Linked DNA regions of Homo sapiens: region 2 is linked to region 1. Evidence: promoter capture Hi-C in 16 types of primary human blood cells and fetal thymus (Javierre and others, 2016). All regions are on one chromosome and are shown on one strand. The core of a region is centred on a gene start or on the middle of the fragment in contact, and the rest is flanking DNA. Distances in the headings are between cores, read along the strand shown.

Region 1 (5,341 bases), core at 2,454-4,953:
AACTGAAGAACTAGAGATTTCTGTCAAAAAAGAAAAGTCTAGATGGAGCTTAAAAGCTCACTCTAGTTTAATGACCAAAAAATAAGCTTTTCTTTCTTGCCCTTCAGAGTTGGTGTAGTTTCATAAGCAACTGCTGTTTATATTGATGTGAACAAAACATCTTTCCTTTTGTATCCTGAATTGCAAGCTTAATTGACCTTAGAAATATGTTTACTGGGGATGTGACAATTGGAGCTTTCTTTAAAAAAAAAAGTCTATAACTCAGGAAAGAAGGTATTTTGTCAAATGTGACCAGGAATTGGAATGTTTGCCACCAGTGTTACCTAAATCTTAGCATTATGGACTTGGATTCTTTGCAGGTAGAGAAATATGTGATTTGAAAAAAAAAATACAGTAAAAACTGAGGTAATAGGATTTACTGATGCATCTTGTCCAACTAAACATAAATTTAGGTGTTAACTTTTCCCTCTCATTATGTGACAGACTTTTTCTTTACTCAATCATATTTCATTTAAAATGTCACTATTGGGAGACTCTCTGAATCTGCTGTGATTCTGGGGGCTGCTGGATAAGAAAAATAAAAAAGTATCACTATTAAAATTTTCAATTTTAAATTAAAATTGTTATTATTTTCCTATATTTCAAAATATTTGTGGTGTATTTGATTTGAAAGGACAAGAGGAAGTGTTTAAAATAAATGTAAATTTATTTTACAATGCCATGAAATGCAACTGAGGCAAAAACATCGCTATTTTACATTTTCTAATGTTATTTTCCTTTCACCTTATCTTGCTATGAATATGATTAGCAGAGTCTATACAGGGTATGTATTTTAGCATACTTTGTGGAATAATATTAGAAAATAGTATGATAGTAGTAAACCTAGCATATTTTAGATGTACATACTAATGCAAAAATACCACTTAACATAGAATGTAAAATAAAGCTTCTAATTTTTTGCATGGTTACTATATCTGTATGTTTATTTAGTATCTACTTTCTTTGAACTATATTTTTCAAGCATAGGATTAGTGTGGGATAATTCAGAGCATGCCAAGATATTTTACTTGTGACAGCTTAGCTTTTAATTTTCTTTTACCAAGCTTCTTCATTCACATATGTTTCTAGGATGAAGGATACTAGCAAAAAGAACAATATATTTGCTCAGTTCAGGAAGAATGATCGAGACAAACAGAAGTTGATAGAGACAGTCGTGAAACAGCTGAGAAGTTTGGTGAATGGTATGTCCCAGCACATGTAGACCTCACATGGCTTGCACTCAGTGACACCAAATCCATGATTCAATGTTGATCTTGAGCAAGTATTGGTCATGATACAGTAATTTGTTTACAGAATCCAAAAATACAATAGAGAAGATACATGAGGGCTTAAACAAGAAATAGTAATAAATATCATTTGTATGGATTTTTAAATAATCGAATACTATTTTATATATGGAAAAAAATGACCATTTTTTCACTTTTAGGGGAAAATGCAAAAGTGTAATACATAAATTGTCACAAATTATACATGAAATTGATTACAAATACATTTGAAAAACATATGCCTCTACTCATAAGTATTTTTTTCTATTTAGACTTGAATGATAATCTGTTTTTTGATCAGTATATGGCTTTGGAATTCAATCATGTCTGATATGGTAGTATTTCACTACCATTTTCTGACTTTTAGCTTTTATTTTCACCTCAATGTGATTTAAGCAGACCAAAATTTCTAATTCTGCTAATTCTGAAGGGGAAATAGACAAATCTTAAAAGCTGCCTGAAATCAAACTTGATTTAACTCAGTAAGAATGTGAATTATTTGTTCTACTTGGGTGGTTTAATTTAATCGTTCTGAATATGAACAAAAGGTTTTGGATTTTCTAAAGATGCAGTGTTGTTTCTGTTCATCAGGGTTAATATTTCTAACTATATTGCTTGTAGGTGACCCCATTCTGGATTTGTTTGGTTTGGTTTGGTTCCAGTTAAAAGAGAGGACAGGAACTAAATGGGGCTAACCACTTCAGGTGCAGCTTGTGCGAGGGTAGATGGTTCCTGCACACAGAAGTTACCACAGGGGTCAGGTTACTTTCTTCAAATAGCAGATTTCAGTACTTTATCCTCATTGTGGAAACAAGCCAAACCAAATGAACTCTGGAAAACCTAAAACAAATGTACATTTTCCTTTGTGTATGTTTCCGTGGTCCAAATGGCAATATAAATCCAGTCTTTATTCTCCCTTTGTTGTATTTATGCTGAATCTTCCCTTTGCCTTTTCAGGATTTAGGCCTGTAAGAAACTATGCCTGATTCTGTAAAATAAGTGTAAAGAATTATATGTACATCTCTGGATTTTGTGATGAAATATTAAAAATATTGAGCAAGTTGTTGAAAATGCATTACTATTTTGTCTATTCAGAGCTTACTGATTTAAAACAAGTGCTTCCTGGAGAAAAGGCATATTATTTCCTAGTTACTGGAATGGGAGTGGCACCAAAACAGTATATATACATACACACACACACACACACACATATATATACATATGCGCACTTGTTCTCTCGATCATCTCTTAATCCAAAGTATTTAATGTTTTTAAAAATATTACATGAAAAGCATGGTAGTTCTTCAGGCACGGTGAAATCTGGAGGAGAGGAGCGGTGAACAGCTAGCTCTCTTTGAAGACTGGAATGGGGCTGCCCTTCGCGCCTTACCCAGCCTTCCAGCGTACTTGGGGTGTCTTCCCTGCTTTGGCTGAGACGTCCCGGGATTCAGAGAGATACTGCCTTTGCACTGCCTGGAGGAGACCACTGTGGGACCTCTTTACTCTTACCAATAATATAAACACCCTGCACCCCTCCACACACACCCCAGGTTGCACTGTAGGGACAAGAACGAGTGAGTCCTGAGGCATTTGGAACCCTTGAATGGGACGCACAAAGCCCAAAACGCAACAATGTAGATTGACAAGAGTCGTCGGGCAAACTCGGGGGAGGGAGGGAAGGATGTGCAGGGAAGGATGAATTCGGTCCTTGAGACCGGAAAGGTGCTCGTGGGTATCCGCTTCTGGAGGCTTAGGACGTCTTTATGAAGCCTAGGGCAGTAGTGGAACTGCCATCTTTGGAAGGATACCTGACGTGGTAGATCAGAGAGCCGGGAGAGGTGGGGAGCTGTCGGAGAATCTCGGCTGCGCTATCCCTCCTGGGCTTTTGCGATGCCAACGCAGGCGTCGACGACTGCAGTTTCCCTGAAATAGTCGGAGCAAAGGAGAGAAAAGCCCAGTTCTTTCACCTTGGAGTGGCGAGAGAAAGGCACCTAGAAGCTCGAGGGCGGGGACGGCAGAGGGAGCCAGCGGCCGGGGGTGGGCCAGGAGCACTGCGGGGCGCAAGCCCGGGTCAGTTCTGCGCGTTGGGTTCGCCCACTTTCTGAGCGCCTGCGAAGAGCGGGGAAGCTCTGGCGCGAACCCGCAGGCCCCGCCCGAGGACGCTCGCGGGGCGAGCCCCCAGCCCAGCTCGAGCCGCCCCGGCGCCTGCCACTCCCTACTCAGAGCCCCTCCGTGAGCGCGCCGCTGCCCACCGCCTCCAATCACCACTCTGCGTGGAGCGCTTTAAATATGCAAAGACACGTCACGTTGTGTGAACCGGGATCGGTCCGTAGGGGGGGAGCCAATATCTATATAAACGTGTCCAGCGTGGGCCAAGAAGGGTTAAACGACTGGAGGAGGGACAGGTGGGGCGGGGGTCTGCAGACCAGGTTGGCAACACTGGTGAGTTGCTCTTCTTTCGCCCTCCTTCCCTTCTTCTATCCAAAGGGTGCTGAGCCCGGGAGGAGGTGGGAGGTGCCCCGCGGAGCCGGGAGTGAGCGTTCCCGAGGCAGCAGGCACCTTCGAGAGGGACTGGCATTTGGGCCCAGGAGCCAGGAAAAAGTCCTGAGCGTGCCGGCCTCGAGGAAGGCACGTTCCCTAAGGGCGCACGGTCACTGCAGTCTTTCACCGTCCGTCTGTTTTTAGAACAGAGTTCTGGCCTGAGCTTATAAATCTCGGGCTTTGCCCCCAAACCCCAGGCCTTTTGCGGACGGAACAGGTGAGCACTGCGCACTGCTCGCGCCCCGGTTCTTGCGTCCCCTGCTCTCCCTGCGCTCTGAGCGGCCTGGCCCCCGCGGGCTCATCATGTTCCCTTGGGGGCTGAGCTGCCTGTCAGTGCTGGGGGCGGCGGGCACTGCTCTCCTGTGCGCGGGCCTGCTGCTCAGCCTGGCCCAGCACCTCTGGACCCTCCGCTGGATGCTGAGCCGGGACCGGGCCTCCACCCTGCCTCTGCCCAAGGGCTCCATGGGGTGGCCCTTCTTCGGCGAAACGCTGCACTGGTTAGTTCAGGTGAGCAGTCCTTCGACCCCGAGCGCTAATACGGTCCCTTCTTCCCCCGGCTCCCACTGGACCCTCCTCAGTCTCAATGCCCATGGGATTTGTAGCCAGTCCCTGCCCATCGCCCACGACCCCGGGAAGCGCGCACAACTCTCGCCTTTACCTAGATACTCCGTTCCCTCGAAGGGACCTCAAGTCACTGGAATTCCCCCCAGAGCAACTCCCAGACACAACGCAGGGGGTAAACATAAGGGGTTTTAGGAAGGGGTCTGAGGAGCACGTCCTGCAAGGGTAGAAAAGGAGCCTGGAGCTTGGCCCAGCTGTGAGCCCTTGGGCCCTCACTTCTTCACTCTGAGTCTGTTTCCTCATCTCACCAATAGGAACAGGAGCATGTACATTCCCGTAGAGTAGATACCAGGCCCACTGGGGATCTTGTTTTGTAAACGCGCCAGCCAGGGACAGGAAGTTGTGATCAAAAGGCAGCTGGAAGGTCTGGGTCAGATCCCAGCCCAGGCCCAGAAGTTCCAGCTCTCCACCCTCCGCCTCGCCCGCAGGGCTCGCGCTTCCACAGTTCTCGCCGAGAGCGCTATGGGACAGTGTTCAAGACGCACCTGCTGGGCAGGCCAGTGATCCGCGTGAGCGGCGCGGAGAACGTGCGCACCATCCTGCTGGGCGAGCACCGCCTGGTGCGCAGCCAGTGGCCGCAGAGTGCGCACATCCTGCTGGGCTCGCACACACTGCTAGGTGCGGTCGGCGAGCCGCACCGGCGGCGGCGCAAGGTGAGTGGAAACGGGAATGGACCGTAGATACGTCGGATCCGCGGTCCCCGGCATCTGCCATGGGCCAGGCCGGGGCCCCGGTGTTGGATACACTGTGAACCCGACCAAGGTCCCTGGTAACTAGCGGGTGGCCTTGGGCGGGTCCGTTACCTTCAGCTTCGGTTTATAAAGTTAGGACTGCGCTAAAAGATTCTTTCATCT
Region 2 (5,827 bases), core at 422-2,921, 230 kb after region 1:
CTGTTATGGGAAACATTTCTGCCCTCTACAAATATACAAATAAGAACAACAAGGGTGGGCACGGTGGCTCACTCCTGTAATCCCAGAACTTTGGGAGGCCAAGGCAGGTGGATCACCTGAGGTCAGGAGTTCAAGACCAGCATGGTCAACATGGTGAAACCCCGTCTCTACTTAAAATACAAAAATTAGCTGGGCAGGGTGACGGGTGCCTGTAATCCCAGCCACTTGGGAGGCTGAAGCATGAGAATTGCTTGAGCCTGGGAGGGGGAGGTTGCAGTGAGCTGAGATCACACCATTGCGCTCCAGCCTGAGCGACAGAGTAAGACTCTGTCTCAAAAAAAAAAAAAAAATAAGAAGAACAGTGAATATTAATGGGAGCTTCACAAATGTAGGACCTGCGCTAAGATCCTGATGAGCCATTTCTGTCACTTTTGGTATAATAACTTTTTTTCTGAAGGCCTGTATGTTTTTACAATGAACCCTAAAATCTGAGACAGGTCTCAGTCAATTTAGGAAGTTTATTTTGCCAAAGTTAAGGATGCGTGCCCAATACACAGCCTCAGGAGTTCCTGACGACATGTGCCCAGGGTGGTCAGAGCACAGCTTGGTTTTATCCGTTTTAGGAGACATGAGACATGAATTAATATATGTTTCCATTCAGAAAGGCAGGACAACTCAAAGTGGGAAGGGCCAGATCATAGGTAGTTAAGAGATTGGCAAAATAAACTTTCTGTTTTTTTTTTTTTTGTTTTTTTTTTTTTTTTTTTTTTTTTTTTGTTGTTGTTGTTGTTTTTGGAGATGGAGTCTTGCTCTGTCGCCCAGGCTGGAGTGCAGTGGCATAATCTTGGCTCACTGCATGCTCCGCCTCCCGGGTTCACGCCATTCTCCTGCCTCAGCCTCCCGAGTAGCTGGGACTACAGGTGTCTGCCACTACGCCTGGCTAATTTTTTTGTATTTTTAGTAGAGATGGGGTTTCACCGTGTTAGCCAGGATGGTCTCGATCTCCTGACCTTGTGATCTGCCCGCCTCAGCCTCCCAAAGTGCTGGGATTATGGGTGTGAGCCACCGAGCCCGGCCACAAAATAAACTTTCTAAATAGACTGAGACCTGTCTCAGATATTTGGGGTTCACAAGACAAAGGTTGCATTCTTTTGAGTTTCTAATGAGACTTTTCAAAGGAGGCAACCAGATATGCATTTATCTCAGCAGAGGGATGACTTTGAGTTCTGTCTGTCCTTTGTCCACAGCAAATTTCCTTGTGACGGAGGTATGTAGCTTTTTTATCTTAGTAGATATCTTTTATTTATTTATTTTTTTGGATGGAGTCTCACTTTGTCTCCCAGGCTGGAGTGCAGTGGCGTGATCTTGGCTCACTGCAAACTTCACCTCCCAGGTTCAAGTGATTCTCCAGCCTCAGCCCCCTGAGTAGCAGATGCCCACCACCATATTTGGCTAATTTTTTGTATTTTTAGTAGAGATGGGGTTTTACCATGTTGGCCAGGCTGGTCTCGAACTCCTGGCCTTAACTGATCCACCCGCCTCGGCCTCCCAAAGTGCTGGGATTACAGGCATGAGCCACTGCGCCTGGCCTTTAATAAATATCTTTTTTAGGAATAGAATGGGTGGCAAGTTTGCCCTAAGCAGTTCTCAGCTTGACTTTTCCCTTTGGCTTAATGATTTTGAGGTCCCAAGATTTATCTTCCTTTCATATTACCAACCAGTTAAGAACAGCCAGAGGACAAATATTCCCCTCACGGATGTTCCAAGTCACTTTTTAAACCCAAATCAGAGCAGTACATTGACTCTTAGAACATTTGCTTTTCTTCTTATACCTTTATTTTAATCTTGTGGAAATTCTATTTTACTGCTTGATTCTACTTTTTGTCTTTTTTTGTGAGTGAACTCAAAGTGCCCTCTCCTCTTTTTAAAAGAAATATGAAGAAGTTTAATTTGAAAATTGATGAGGCTTCAAGACAGACTTGTAGATCTTAGCGTCCTGGATGGGGACTTGCTCAGCGTACTTGAAGCATATTGAGGATTCTTTAGTAGAATTCACATTTTCCAAGAGCAAAGAGTCCAAGTACATGCTCTTTCTAAAGGGCACTGGAGGACTTCTCTACTTCTCCCGACCCAGAGGGGAGACTACTGTCCCCACAGGAGGTCCTCAAAACAGACTTGTGGCAGGCCCCTTCTTCCCCATTGCGTTTGAGGGCCAGCAATCAAGGTGGAGAAAGTCACCCCATGCAGATGGAAAGAGTGGCTAAGGAATGGCCATTAATTCTGGCTGGAACCTTCTCAAGACTCTACTTGGGGCGGGGTATAAATTGGTACTACATTTCAGGAAGCAACTGGCAATGTATCTCAAGGGCATTAAATATGCTCGTGCCCTCTGACTCAGGAATTCCCCTTTGACTCAGGAATGAATAAGAAATTCATTTGCCCATTCATTGATGCTGCTCTATCTCATGCACAAGGTTGGGTGAACAAGACAAACATTGTCCCTGACCTTATACTGTTAACAATTTAATAGATCTAGAGGCCCCAAAATACAGGCAAAGATCTTTGTCCATGGATGTTTAAAGCAGCATTGTAAATAGCAAAGAATTGGAAACAATATATATTGTTACATATATCCTCAGTGATAGGGGATTAAATTAGAGTAGATCCATGTGATGGAATTTTAAATGACCATTATAAATTAGGTTTTGAAATTCATAAATTGTGGAAAATGTTTATGAAATACAATTTTTTTTTTTAAGATGGAATCTCGCTCTGTTGCCCAGGCTGAAGTGCAGTGGCGCAATCTCGGTTCACCACAACCTCTGCCTCCCGGGTTCAAGCGATTCTCCTGCCTCAGCCTCCCGAGTAGCTGGGATTACAGGCACGCGCCACCATGCCCAGCTGATTTTTGTATTTTTAGTAGAGACAGGGTTTCACTATGTTGGCCAGGCTGGTCTCGAACTCCTGACCTCGTGATCCGCCCACCTCGGCCTCCCAAAGTGCTGGGATTACAGGCGTCAGCCACTGTGCCCGGCCTATGAAATACAATTTTAAGAGAGGGAAGAAAAGCAAGATATAAAACTGGAGAGTTGGCTAGGCATGGTGGCTCATGCCGGTAATCCCAGCACTTTGGGAGACTGAGGCGGTTGGATCACTTGAGCCCAGGAGTTCGAGACCAGTCTGGGCAACAAGACAAAACTCCTTTTCTCCAAAACAAAAATAAAAACAAAAATTAGCCAGACATGGTGGTGCGTGCTTGTAGTCCCAGCTACGTGGGGGGCTGAAGTGGGAGGATCATCTGAACCTGGGGAGGTCAAAGCTGCACTGAGCCATGATTGTGTCACTGTACTCCAGCCTGGGCAACAGAGCAAGCTCCTGTCACAAAAAACAAACAAAAGCCTTGGAGAATCATGAAGGCAAGGCCAGGGAAGTTCTGGAGGTGGGATCCCAATTTTATGTCTTTAAAAACGGCAAGAGTAGAAGGAAACACCACAAAATAATGTTAACAGTAGTTATCTCATGATAGATTATGGATTTTTAATGTTCTTTTTTATGCTTTTTCCCAATAAAGTATCTGCAGTGAATATAAATGAATTTTAAAATTTTTAAAGAAAAAATATTTCTAGGAGTTATGTTCAGGGCTTCTATGCTGTGGATATAAGGGAAGAATTATCCCTTAGATTCCCCCAGCTGTAACATTCCTTCTAGGCCAAGCTTGTGTAGCCTGCGGCCCAGAGGCCACATGCAGCCCAGGACGGCTTTGAAAGCAGCGCAATACAAATTCATAAACTTTCTTAAAACGTTATGAGAGGTTTTTTTTTTGGTGATTTTTTTTTTTTAAATCTCATCAGCTATCGTTAGTGTTCATGTATTTTATGTGTGGCCCACTTCTTCTTCCAGTGTGGACCAGGGAAGCCAAAAGATTACGTACCTCTGGTTTCGGATTTATTCATTTGTAATGTGTAGCTACAGTGCACTCACATTCACCACTTTATAGTATTTTATTAAATGACTATACCTCAATTTATTATCCAATCTACTGTTAATGGAAAACATGAGAGTTTCTCCAATGTTCTGCAATTTCAAACATTTAAAAATTTTTCTTCAAGTGCGCTGTGTTAATGTCTCCTTAGGGTACAAATCTAAGAGTAGGGTTGCTGGGTCACAGAGCAGGGACTGATACCTTTGGTAGATAATGACAAATTGTTTTTTACTGTGGTTTTACCTGTTTAAACATCTACCAGCTATGTATAAAAATATATGTTGTTGCACAGCCCTCTTGAGTCTTGATGTCAAAGACTTTTAAATTTTTTGCCAATTTGGAGTATGTGAAATGATAGTTCATTGTGGTTTTAATTTATATTTTCTTCCTTTTTAATCAAATTGAGCATTGCCATATTGGCCATGTGAATTTTCATTGCTGAGAGGAGGCTGTTCAGGAGATGCTGATTGTATGTCCCTAGAATCTTGGGGTCATGGCTGACTTGGAGCAGCTGGGGAGGGTGAGGAGGGCCCAGGAAGGAGCAGGGTGCTACCCTGAAGTCCAGCGTGGAGCCATGGGGAGCAGGGGCCTGGCCACAATGGCAGAGACATGTAGAGGGTGCTGCCCAGCAGGGAACTTCTGGTTGATTCTCTGTCTTGGTTAGAGGCGAGCCTACTCTGGTTACTTTGATAACAAAATGCACCCACGTCCCACCCTCAGCATCCTGAGGAGCTGGGCAGCAAACGTCCATGGAGCAAGGCAGGGGACTTGGGGTGACTGGCAGGCACATGACTCCAGACAATTTCTGAACAGTGAAATGCTGGCAGACTTTTCAATGTGTGGGGAAAAGCTCAAAATATAATCTTTAATGTGACTTTTTCCAATGGTTAAACATCGTCAGCTAGTTAAATAAAGGTGGTTTGGGCCAAATCAGCTGTGTCTGTGGGTGCTGGAGGTAGCTGTCAAAAGGCTCAAAGTGACCCGAGCTTTGGTTATGAGACAAGGTTCACTCCTCAGACAATCAGCAAGTATTACCTGTCTCCTGAGGCCTGGGGACCTACTTTTGTGTAGGGAACAGGAGAAAAAATAGGCCCCTGACTTCATGGAGGCATCGTCTGAGAGGACACTCGTTCTTTTAGCACTTTTGTGTGTGTGATAAAACAGGCATGATGTAAAATTTACTACTTGTAGCTGTTCAGTTCAGTGGCATAATTGCATTCACATTGTTGCACGCCACAGAACTCTTTTCATCTTACAAAATGGAAATTCTGTACTCATTAAACACCGACTCCCCATTCCTCCCCTTCCCCTAGCCTCCTCTGGCAGCCACCATTCTACTTTTTGTCTCCATAGATTTATTTATTTATTTAGAGACAGACTCTCGCTCTGTTGCTCAGGCTGGAGTGCAGTGGTGTGATCTCGGCTCACTGCAACCTCCGTCTCTCAGGTTCAAGCTATTCTCCTGCCTCAGCCTTCCGAGTAGCTGGGATTACAGGCATGTGCCACCACGCCCTGCTAATTTTTGTATTTTTAGTAGAGACGGGGGTTTCACCATGTTGGCCAGGCTGGTCTCGAACTCCTCATCTCAGGTGATCTGCCCACCTGGGCCTCCCAAAGTGCTGGGATTACAGGTATGAGCCACCACTCCTGGCCGTCTCTATAAATTTGACTACTCTAGGAACCTCATATAAATGGAATCATACAACATTTGTCCTTTTGCATTTGGCTTATTTCACCTAACATACTGCCTTCAAGAGTCACCCATGTTGTAGCATGGGACAGAATTTCCTTTCTTTTTAAACCCAAATAATATTCCATTGTATGTAGATACCACATTTTGCTTAT

The links. Contacts are between HindIII fragments. The CHiCAGO score rates a contact against its expected background, and 5 or more counts as called.
Region 2: a contact is called between a fragment that was not itself captured here and the fragment with the promoter of CYP26C1 in region 1, in 5 of 17 cell types (M1 macrophages, M0 macrophages, M2 macrophages and 2 more). The highest score is 9.0, in M1 macrophages.

The regions. Positions count from the first base shown.
Region 1 is chr10:93,057,095-93,062,435 of GRCh38, forward strand. It overlaps CYP26C1 (cytochrome P450 family 26 subfamily C member 1), which reads left to right and starts at 3,704. Exons shown (of 6, transcript NM_183374.3): 1 at 3,704-4,373; 2 at 4,916-5,140. The coding sequence starts at 4,170. EXOC6 (exocyst complex component 6) reads left to right here. Exons shown (of 22, transcript NM_019053.6): 22 at 1,129-2,396. The coding sequence ends at 1,261. RefSeq lists an enhancer at 3,722-4,631. The HindIII fragment of the contact is 6,240 bases long and covers 1,102-5,341 here.
Region 2 is chr10:93,291,792-93,297,618 of GRCh38, forward strand. No RefSeq gene overlaps it. Among named protein-coding and RNA genes, the nearest start is that of MYOF, 190 kb to the right of the region's middle. The HindIII fragment of the contact is 4,082 bases long and covers 1-3,712 here.